Regions from separate parts of the Homo sapiens genome. Here regions 1 and 3 are each linked to region 2. The links are contacts of gene promoters, found by promoter capture Hi-C in human tissues and cell types (Jung and others, 2019). All regions are on one chromosome and are shown on one strand. Each heading gives the region's core, a stretch centred on a gene start or on the middle of the fragment in contact. The rest is flanking DNA. Distances are from core to core; before and after follow the strand shown.

Region 1 (2,730 bases), core at 44-2,543, 200 kb after region 2:
TTACTGTTGGTCAAAGTTTTACATCTGTGTTGTCTGGAGCTGTCAGATTTCATCAGGATAAGAGGAGGATGGAGGCCAAGTCTGATCCATCGGGTCTGTGTCACCTCACAGGCATACATCCTTGCTGTGAGCAGTTCACTACACAGTTCTGCACCCTACAAATGTGAAAGTCAAGAAATCCTATCTCATTAAATTCCTGTAAAAAATAAAACAATTTGGGTCTCACTTGGGTAAAATGAAAAACGAAATAACATAAAATAAAAACAAACTTCATGATACACTAACTATTGTACATACCATATTAGTGAGTACATTTTCATGAGGATAACACTTTCATTTTTGACTAGGTGTCGAAAGAACCCAATCTTTTGGGGCCTATTTTCAGCATTCTTAAAGACAATAAATTCCAAACAAAATTTCCTATCCCATCAAACTAAGCTTCATAAGCAAAGAAGAAAAAAAAATCTTTTCCAGACAAGCAGTCACTGAGAAAATGTGTTACCACTAGACCAGCTTTACAAGAGATGCTTAAACGAGGTCTAAAGATGGAAATAAGAGAACAACACCTACTGTTGCAAGAATACAGTTAAATGCATAGTTCAGAGACAGTAGATAGCAACAACACAATACATACTACAAGGAAAACAGCTGTCACCTTCATGATAGGATCAAAAACTCACATATAAATATTAACCTTGGGCCGGGCACAGTGGCTCGCACCTGTAATCCCAGCACTTTGGGAGGCTGAGGCGGGTGGATCACAAGGTCAAGAGTTCGAGACCAGCCTGCCCAGCATGGTGAAACCCAGTGTCTACTAAAACTACAAAAAATTAGCTGGGCATGGTGGTGCACACCTATAATCCCAGCTACTTGGGAGGCTGAGGCAGGAGAATCACTTGAACCCAGGAGGCAGAGGTTGCAGTAAGCCGAGATCGTGCCATTGTACTCCAGCCTGGGCAATAGAGCAAGTCTCTGTCTCAAACAAACAAACAAACAAACAAAAAATATTAATCTTGACTATAAACAGCCTAAATGACCCACTTAAAAGGCACAGATTACAAGTTGTATTTAAAAACCCAGACCCATCCATCTGCTGTCTTTGAAAAGATCCATCTCACACATAATGACACCCATAGTCTCAACAAAAAGGGTTGGAGGGAGATCTATCACACAAATAGAAAACACAAAAGGGAGAGGTTTGCTATTTTCACATCAGATGAAACAGACTTTAATCCCAAAACAGCAATTTAGAAAGGACAAAGAAGGGCATTACATGATGACAAAGGGTTCAATTAAACGAGAAGACTTAGTTATTCTTAAACATGTGCACCCAACATTGCAGCCCCTAGATTGATAAACAAGTATGCCCAGGCCAACAAAAAGAATTAGTCACAGAATAATAATGGGGTACTTCAATATCCCAATGGCAGTGTTAGATAGATTATTGACGTAGAAAACTAACAAAGAAATTCTGGATTTAAATTTGATACTTGACCAATTGGACCTAATAGACATCTACAGAATACACCACCCATCAACCACAGAACATACTTTCTTCTCATGGGACCACAGAGCATGCTCTAAGACAGACCACATGCTCAGCCATGAAGCAGGTCTCAATAAATTAAAAAAGGAAAATCATACTAACTGTAATCTCAGACCACAGTGGAATAAAAATAGAAATCAATACCAATAAGACAAAATGAAATAAAAATAGAAATCCATACTAAAGAGAGTTGCTGAAGCCACAATTTTTCCTGAGTGATAGGTACTATGGCCAGGAACAGCTATGCAGTCATGGACTTGTGTGTGGGTGTCATTTCTGGGTGCCCCAGCCTGCCCCCTTTGTCAGTTGGGAGGTGTGTCCCACCAGTTTTGAGCTGCTGGTGTGAATGGGGAGTGTGGTTCATAGCTCCCTTATCTTGCAAATAATTTGGCAGAGCAAAAACACCCCCCCCTCAGGTCCAAGCCTGGGCATATTTCCCAGCATTCAACACTTCCACTTCCTGAAATAAGGGCCTGGCACCCCTCCCATGAACAGAGCTTCTTGCAACAGCCATTTCTCCACTCTGCAGCAAATTTTTTTGTTCCTCACTGAGGGACATATTTCCAGGCATTTGGCCCATCTGCTCACCTAGATTAAGATCCTGGGTCACCCCTCCATTGCTGTGCAGACATCTTGGTGCAGAAGCACCCTCTTCACTCCACAACCAGGCATAATTTCAAGAATTCAGTACACCCCCTCACCTGGATTAGGAGTATAAGTTGCCTTTCCCTTCTAATGCGGAGATCTTAGTGCGTCTTTATTTTCCACTCCTCTCCAGGGCATAGTTCCAAGCACTCAGTGCACCTGCTCTACTGGACTGGAACCCTGAGTCACTTCTCTTGTCCTGTGCAGAAATCTTGGTACAGCAGTGCCGTCTCTGTCTTGCTCAGGGATATTTCCAGGCATGTTGAGTACCCACTTACCTGGAATAGGAACCTGAGCTTCCCCTCCCTTCTCATGCAGAGATCTTGGTGCAGACGCACCCTCTCCACTCCATGCTGGGCACATTCCCAGGCATTTGGAGAACCTTCTCACCTGGATTAGGAGCCTCAGCCACCCCTCCCTTCAGGTGCATAGGTCTTGAATCAGCAGCACCCACTGTGCTGCATGCCTGGACGTATCTTCATGCATGTGGAGTACTCGCTTTTCTAGATTAGGAGGGTAGGTTACCACTCCCTTTCCAG
Region 2 (2,700 bases), core at 43-2,542:
CTCCCACATTCATCCTGTGGCTGCTGCTCCTTCTCCTGACACCCCCACCACCTGCCAGGGGTCTCCCTGCGCCTTCCACCTGGACACACCCACAGTTACCGTGAGACTCCAGGTCGTTCCCTTCCCTGCTCACACCCCCTCCAGGAGCTTCCTCTTCCTGGAGCAGGCATGCCCAGCCTTGCCTCAGGGCCTTTGCACTGACTATTCCCTGCTGCCTGGGGCTTCTCAACCTTTCCGGTCTCTTAGAGACTTCCCTGACCAGGGTCCAGTAGCACCCACCCTCTCTCTAACTGAGCGACTATAATTCCCTGATCTAAATTGTTGATCACCACTCTGCATCCTCCCACACACCCTAATGGCTGGGCTATGCAGTACCACAGCCACCAGCAGCCACTCGTGGCCACAGGGCACTTGAAATGGGGCTAGTCCACAGTGACGCTTGGTCTAACTGTAAAAAATACACAGGGAACTTCAAGACATTACACTCACACAAAAGAATGTAAACTAGCTCCTTAAGAATAGTCCTGAAGTGTTGAAGTATTTTGGATATATTAGGTTAAAGTAGAAATACCAAAATTACTTTCAGCTGTATCTTTTAACTTTTTCAAATGTGTTTTAAATTGCTCCTGGGTTTCTGTCACATCTCTGTTGGATGGCAGCTCTGCAAGTTCATGTCTACGGCTCTATTGCCCAGACTGCTTGGTGCAGGGGGAAGCTGGTGACAGGTTTGTTTATTGAATAATGAGGAGTTATGAAACGAGAACCCAGTGAACTTTACCCAAAGGTTAATTACTTTATGTTTGGCAAAGAAGTTCCCCAGAAGAGGGCATGGACAAGGTCATCCCGGAGCTTCTGAAACAGCTCCCTGCCCCAGGAATTCCCAGACCATGACCACGTGCTCCTGGATGCCCCTGACATCTGAAGACTTTAGAAGGCCAAGCCCTGTATTTCTCCCTTTCCTGTGGACATAGGTGGTCACCAGGTTTCACAGCCCAGGGAGCGGTGTCACCTCTCTGGAATCCAGAGTGAGCCAAGCTTTAGAGCACTGAGGAAGAGGGGCAGGGCTGTGGGGAGGTTGCGGTCAGGACAGGAGTGGGGAGGAGGATGAGGAGGAGGCATGGGAGGAGCGAAGGGAACTTAGGGAGGGAGGGAGGTGGTTGGGGGTGGAAAGGGAGATAGAGACAGAAGAGGAGGGGTAGAAAGAGGAGGAGGAGCCAGGGGCGGGGCCAGGGAGCAGGTGGGGTTGGGGGACACCCAAGTAGGATAAATGCACAGCTAGCTTCTGGCCTGGGCTTCCTGCCTCAGCCTTCTGCTGCTTTGCTCTCTGGGAGATCCAGCTCCTTGCTCTGTGTCCCAGTAGAACATGATGTGGCCCATGCACACCCCACTGCTGCTGCTGACTGCCTTGATGGTGGCCGTGGCCGGGAGTGCCTCGGCCCAATCTAGGACCTTGGCAGGTGGCATCCATGCCACAGACCTCAATGACAAGAGTGTGCAGTGTGCCCTGGACTTTGCCATCAGCGAGTACAACAAGGTCATTAATAAGGATGAGTACTACAGCCGCCCTCTGCAGGTGATGGCTGCCTACCAGCAGGTGCGTGCTACCACCACCCTGGGGGTCCTGAGTCCCAGCTGGGTTTTTTGCCTCACCCCCCAGAGCACTCCCAGCAAATCAACATTATCTAAACCGCAGACTCATTCAGCTTTCTCTGACTGTCTGCTGATGGTCTTCATGCCCTAGGACACTCCTTGGCCGTGAGTGCATGAGTTCAGCCCTGTCCTGTCCCCTCGGCCTCTTTTAACCTGCAGCAGCCACTGTGTCTGTACCATGACTGTGGCATTTCCCAGGGTCCAGCAGGTGTGGATGGAGACTGTGCTGACTCTGGGTGGGCTTGATGCTGCTCAGGATGAGATCCAGGCCACGAGGTTCATCTTCCTCCCTGAGTCCTCTCCACAGGGGCCACACGGGAACCTGACTCCTTGTCCTGGATAGCCCCGCTTCCCTCCCAAGTCACGCCCCTGGGCACAGCCCGTTATGGCTAGTGGCCTTCACTCTCAGGCTGGCTGACCACCCCCTACAGCCCAGGACAGCTGAGTTCCTGCTGGGGTAGAGCATGCCTGACCCTGCCTCTGCCAGCTAACGCAGAGTTAGACCTCAGCAAAATGAGGACAGCAATCACCCAGCAGAGTGAAGGAGGTGGTTGGGTCCAGAGGGAGGAAGCTTCAGCAGGGCTACCGAGCCCAGCTTGACCTACGTCCCATGGCAGAGCAGCAGTGACACAGCGACCACAGGGCTATATGGCCTGCCAGCCTTTAGAGCTCCTCCACCTTCTCTTGGAAAGTCAGAGGAGTCCAGACCAGCCCTGTTTCTCCTCCTGCAGCCCTCTCCCTGCACAGGAGGGGCATTCCCTGGTGCTGTGGTCCCTGCTGGCCTGCACTCCCTCTTAAGTGTGTCACTCACTGGGAGTGAAGCACAGAATGATGTAGATCGTTGGGCCCTGGAGCCTATTTTACAGAGCAGCAGACTGACACCGGAGGGATCACAGGACTTCCATGTGGTTCTACAGGACTTGTGTGTGGTTCCACAGGGCAAGGTCTAGCACCCTGGTCCCAGGGTCCCTCATCCCATGCTTCTCCACAGTTCTGACAAGTCATGTTTTGGGGCGGCACTGTGCAGGGAAAGCATTCAGTTCTCTTCTG
Region 3 (2,700 bases), core at 184-2,683, 130 kb after region 2:
TAGAAAGCCAGGAGGAGTATGGTCTGGCAGGGAGAGTGGGGAGCACCTGTTTCATTTCCTCTCCACCCCTATGGGATGTAACCAAGGTTTTACGTTGAAGAAAGTGAAGCAGCACCCAGGAGGCCATGAACTGGGGAGATTTGAGTCTGGGCCTCACCCGGTGTCAGGGGGTGGGGGCTGCACACACTGATTCAGGCTTCTGTTGGAAGACAGGGGCTGAGAGCAGAGGAGCATGTGCCCAGGAATCATGGTTAGGGGCAGAGTCTTCCCTGCATGGAGATCCTCATGGTTCTCTACCTGGGGAAAGTCTGTCTTGACATAAGCAACCACCATCCAAGGACACAAGGAACAGACAATTTTGTGTAAACCAGTAACTTTTCTGACATCTCTCTTCCTGGGGAAGTGGAGGGGGACGTCTGGCTCTGTAGAGGGCTCCCTCAACCATCTCCTTGTGTGTCTGTTCCCTAGGAGGGGAGCAGGGGGCAGGGAGGCTTTAAGGTGAGCATGTGGACCTTCATCTTCTGGACCAAGCTGAGGGTCTGGGCCCTGTCCGGAAGCCACCCGGTTTTTGGGAGTAAAGGAGGATACTGAGGGTCATGTTTTGGAAATATTGCACCCCTTCTAAGAGTTCCTTTAGCAAAAATAATGTCACACATTCTTACTAAAAGCCTAAAACCGCTGAGGTTAGAAACTCCACCTTCAGCATAGACAAATCACTCTGAAAGGAGGGATAAGTCCATTGGAGGCCTGGGAAGCGGGAACCAGAGCGGTCATTCCTTGGGCAGGTGGATTCTCAGCACTATGACCACTGGCAATCCAGGTTCCGTGAGGTCTGAGGCTTACATAATTCAGAGGGTTATCTACATGAAAAATAGCATAATATAAACTATTTGAAACTAAACACAGAAGTTAGTGTTTATTTAAGAAAAGGAAATAAGTCACAACAAATTACTCACTTTAAAATGCTGAAAAATGCTACAGTCATCCCAAATTCCAGAAACTAATATACATCCTAGTGCATTCAGTCACCAAAACTGATTTTGCAGTTAACAGACTCAGGATTATTGGCTTGTAGCAAAAAGGGAATAAATTCACATTAAGAAACCTGGGATGACTAAAAAAACAAAGCAAAGAGGTTATTATAAGACTGTGGGGAGGGATTCTTGAGGCTGTAGTGATGGACTCACAACGTAGCAGTCCTAAGTGTAAAGCAGCCAGTGTCAAGTCTGGTCTGCAAAGTGGACCCAGGTCCTCTGTCCTTAGAACCCATGAAGTCCAGCCAGATGTGAATGTTCCATCCAGAAACCCCTTCTCTGTAGCTCTGTGCTTCTGTGTAAAGGTGGACCTAGATCCTCCAGGCAGTGTGATGTTGTACTTACTCAAAAGCAAAGTTTCTGACAGCCCCTGATGCTGGAGAGCAAGGTCTTCCTTTGAGTCAGAAAGCAGTTGTCACCCAAGGAAGAGGCTGTTTGACATTTCGAAGCTGCAGCTTGAGAGAAGCATTGTTTCCTGCTCATGATGTCAGTGGCTTTGTCCTCATAAGTCCATCCATCCACCCTGCAGATGAAAGGGCAGATTTGCCCTTCCTTAATTTGTGTTCTTTTTACATGCTAACATAGCATTTTTATTAACTACTTGACTCAACAGTGTAACAAGTTATTTCTATGTTTTCATACTCAACTATTGAGTAACTATTTGCTTCATCACATGACATTGATTTTATAATAGAATTTTCCATAAATATAGCAGAAAGATAAACCAGTCTTTCCACTAAGTTTGATCACTTTAAAATTCTGATAAATAATACAATCATCCAAAATTATGAAATACTACAATCAATCCTACTTGTGAAAATCATGGATTATAACATTTTCTTTCTGCTTCAAAGCTCATATAGGTAATACTATGCAAATTTGTCTGATTGTTGTCTAATTTGGAAAAGCTTCCAGTTTTCTTTCATGTGAGCGCTAAGATTTTAGTACTTTCTAAATTTTCTTGACTTAAGATTGATGATCTTAAAGACTCTATCAATAATGCTCACTAAACACAGCATTTTAAAACTCTGACTGTTGTAGTGGGCTTCAAAATTGTGCAAATGTATAGCTATATACTATATTGATTACCTCATGGAATGCACAGAGTTTGTCCTGAAAGAAATATTTCTTCAAGCCATCTTACTGTTGGTCAATGTTGTGTCTCTGTTGTTTGGAGCTTGCAATTTCATCAGGATAACAGGAGGTTGAAGGCCAAGTCTGATCCATCAGTTCTGTGCCACCTCACAGGCATACATCCTTGCTGTGGGTAGTTTCACTACGCAGATCTGCACCCTACAAACATGAAAAATCAAGAAATTCTATCTCATTAAATTCCCATAAAAAATACAAAAACTTGGGTCTCACTTGGGTAAAATTAAAAACAAAATAACATAAAATAAAAACAAACTGCCTGGTGTGCTATTGTACATACCATATTAGTGAGTACATTTTCATGACACTAACCTATTTTCAGCGTTCTTAAAGACAATAGATTCCAACCAAGAATGTCCTATCCCATCCAACTAAGCTTCATAAGCAAAGAAGAAAAACAATCTTTTCCAGACAAGCAGTTACTGAGAAAATTTGTTACCACTAGACCAGCCTTAAGAGATGCTTAAGGGAGTTCTAAACATGGAAATAAGAGAACAATACCTACTGTTGCAAA

Evidence for each region. The method cuts DNA at HindIII sites, captures the fragments that hold promoters and counts their contacts. A contact is called where the count stands out against the background at its distance.
Region 1: a fragment that was not itself captured here is called in contact with the fragment with the promoter of CST5 in region 2 in 1 of the 25 tissues and cell types used here (thymus).
Region 3: a contact is called between a fragment that was not itself captured here and the fragment with the promoter of CST5 in region 2, in 2 of the 25 tissues and cell types used here (dorsolateral prefrontal cortex and spleen).

Annotation. Positions count from the first base shown.
Region 1 is chr20:23,679,574-23,682,303 of GRCh38, reverse strand. No RefSeq gene overlaps it. Among named protein-coding and RNA genes, the nearest start is that of CST4, 8.1 kb to the left of the region's middle. The HindIII fragment of the contact is 4,514 bases long and covers 1-2,730 here.
Region 2 is chr20:23,878,340-23,881,039 of GRCh38, reverse strand. It overlaps CST5 (cystatin D), which reads left to right and starts at 1,292. Exons shown (of 3, transcript NM_001900.5): 1 at 1,292-1,594. The coding sequence starts at 1,364. RefSeq lists an enhancer at 970-1,799. The HindIII fragment of the contact is 5,935 bases long and covers 1-2,700 here.
Region 3 is chr20:23,743,714-23,746,413 of GRCh38, reverse strand. It overlaps LOC124904966 (a long non-coding RNA gene), which reads right to left and starts at 2,327. Exons shown (of 2, transcript XR_007067750.1): 1 at 2,124-2,327; 2 at 890-1,557. The HindIII fragment of the contact is 5,709 bases long and covers 1-2,700 here.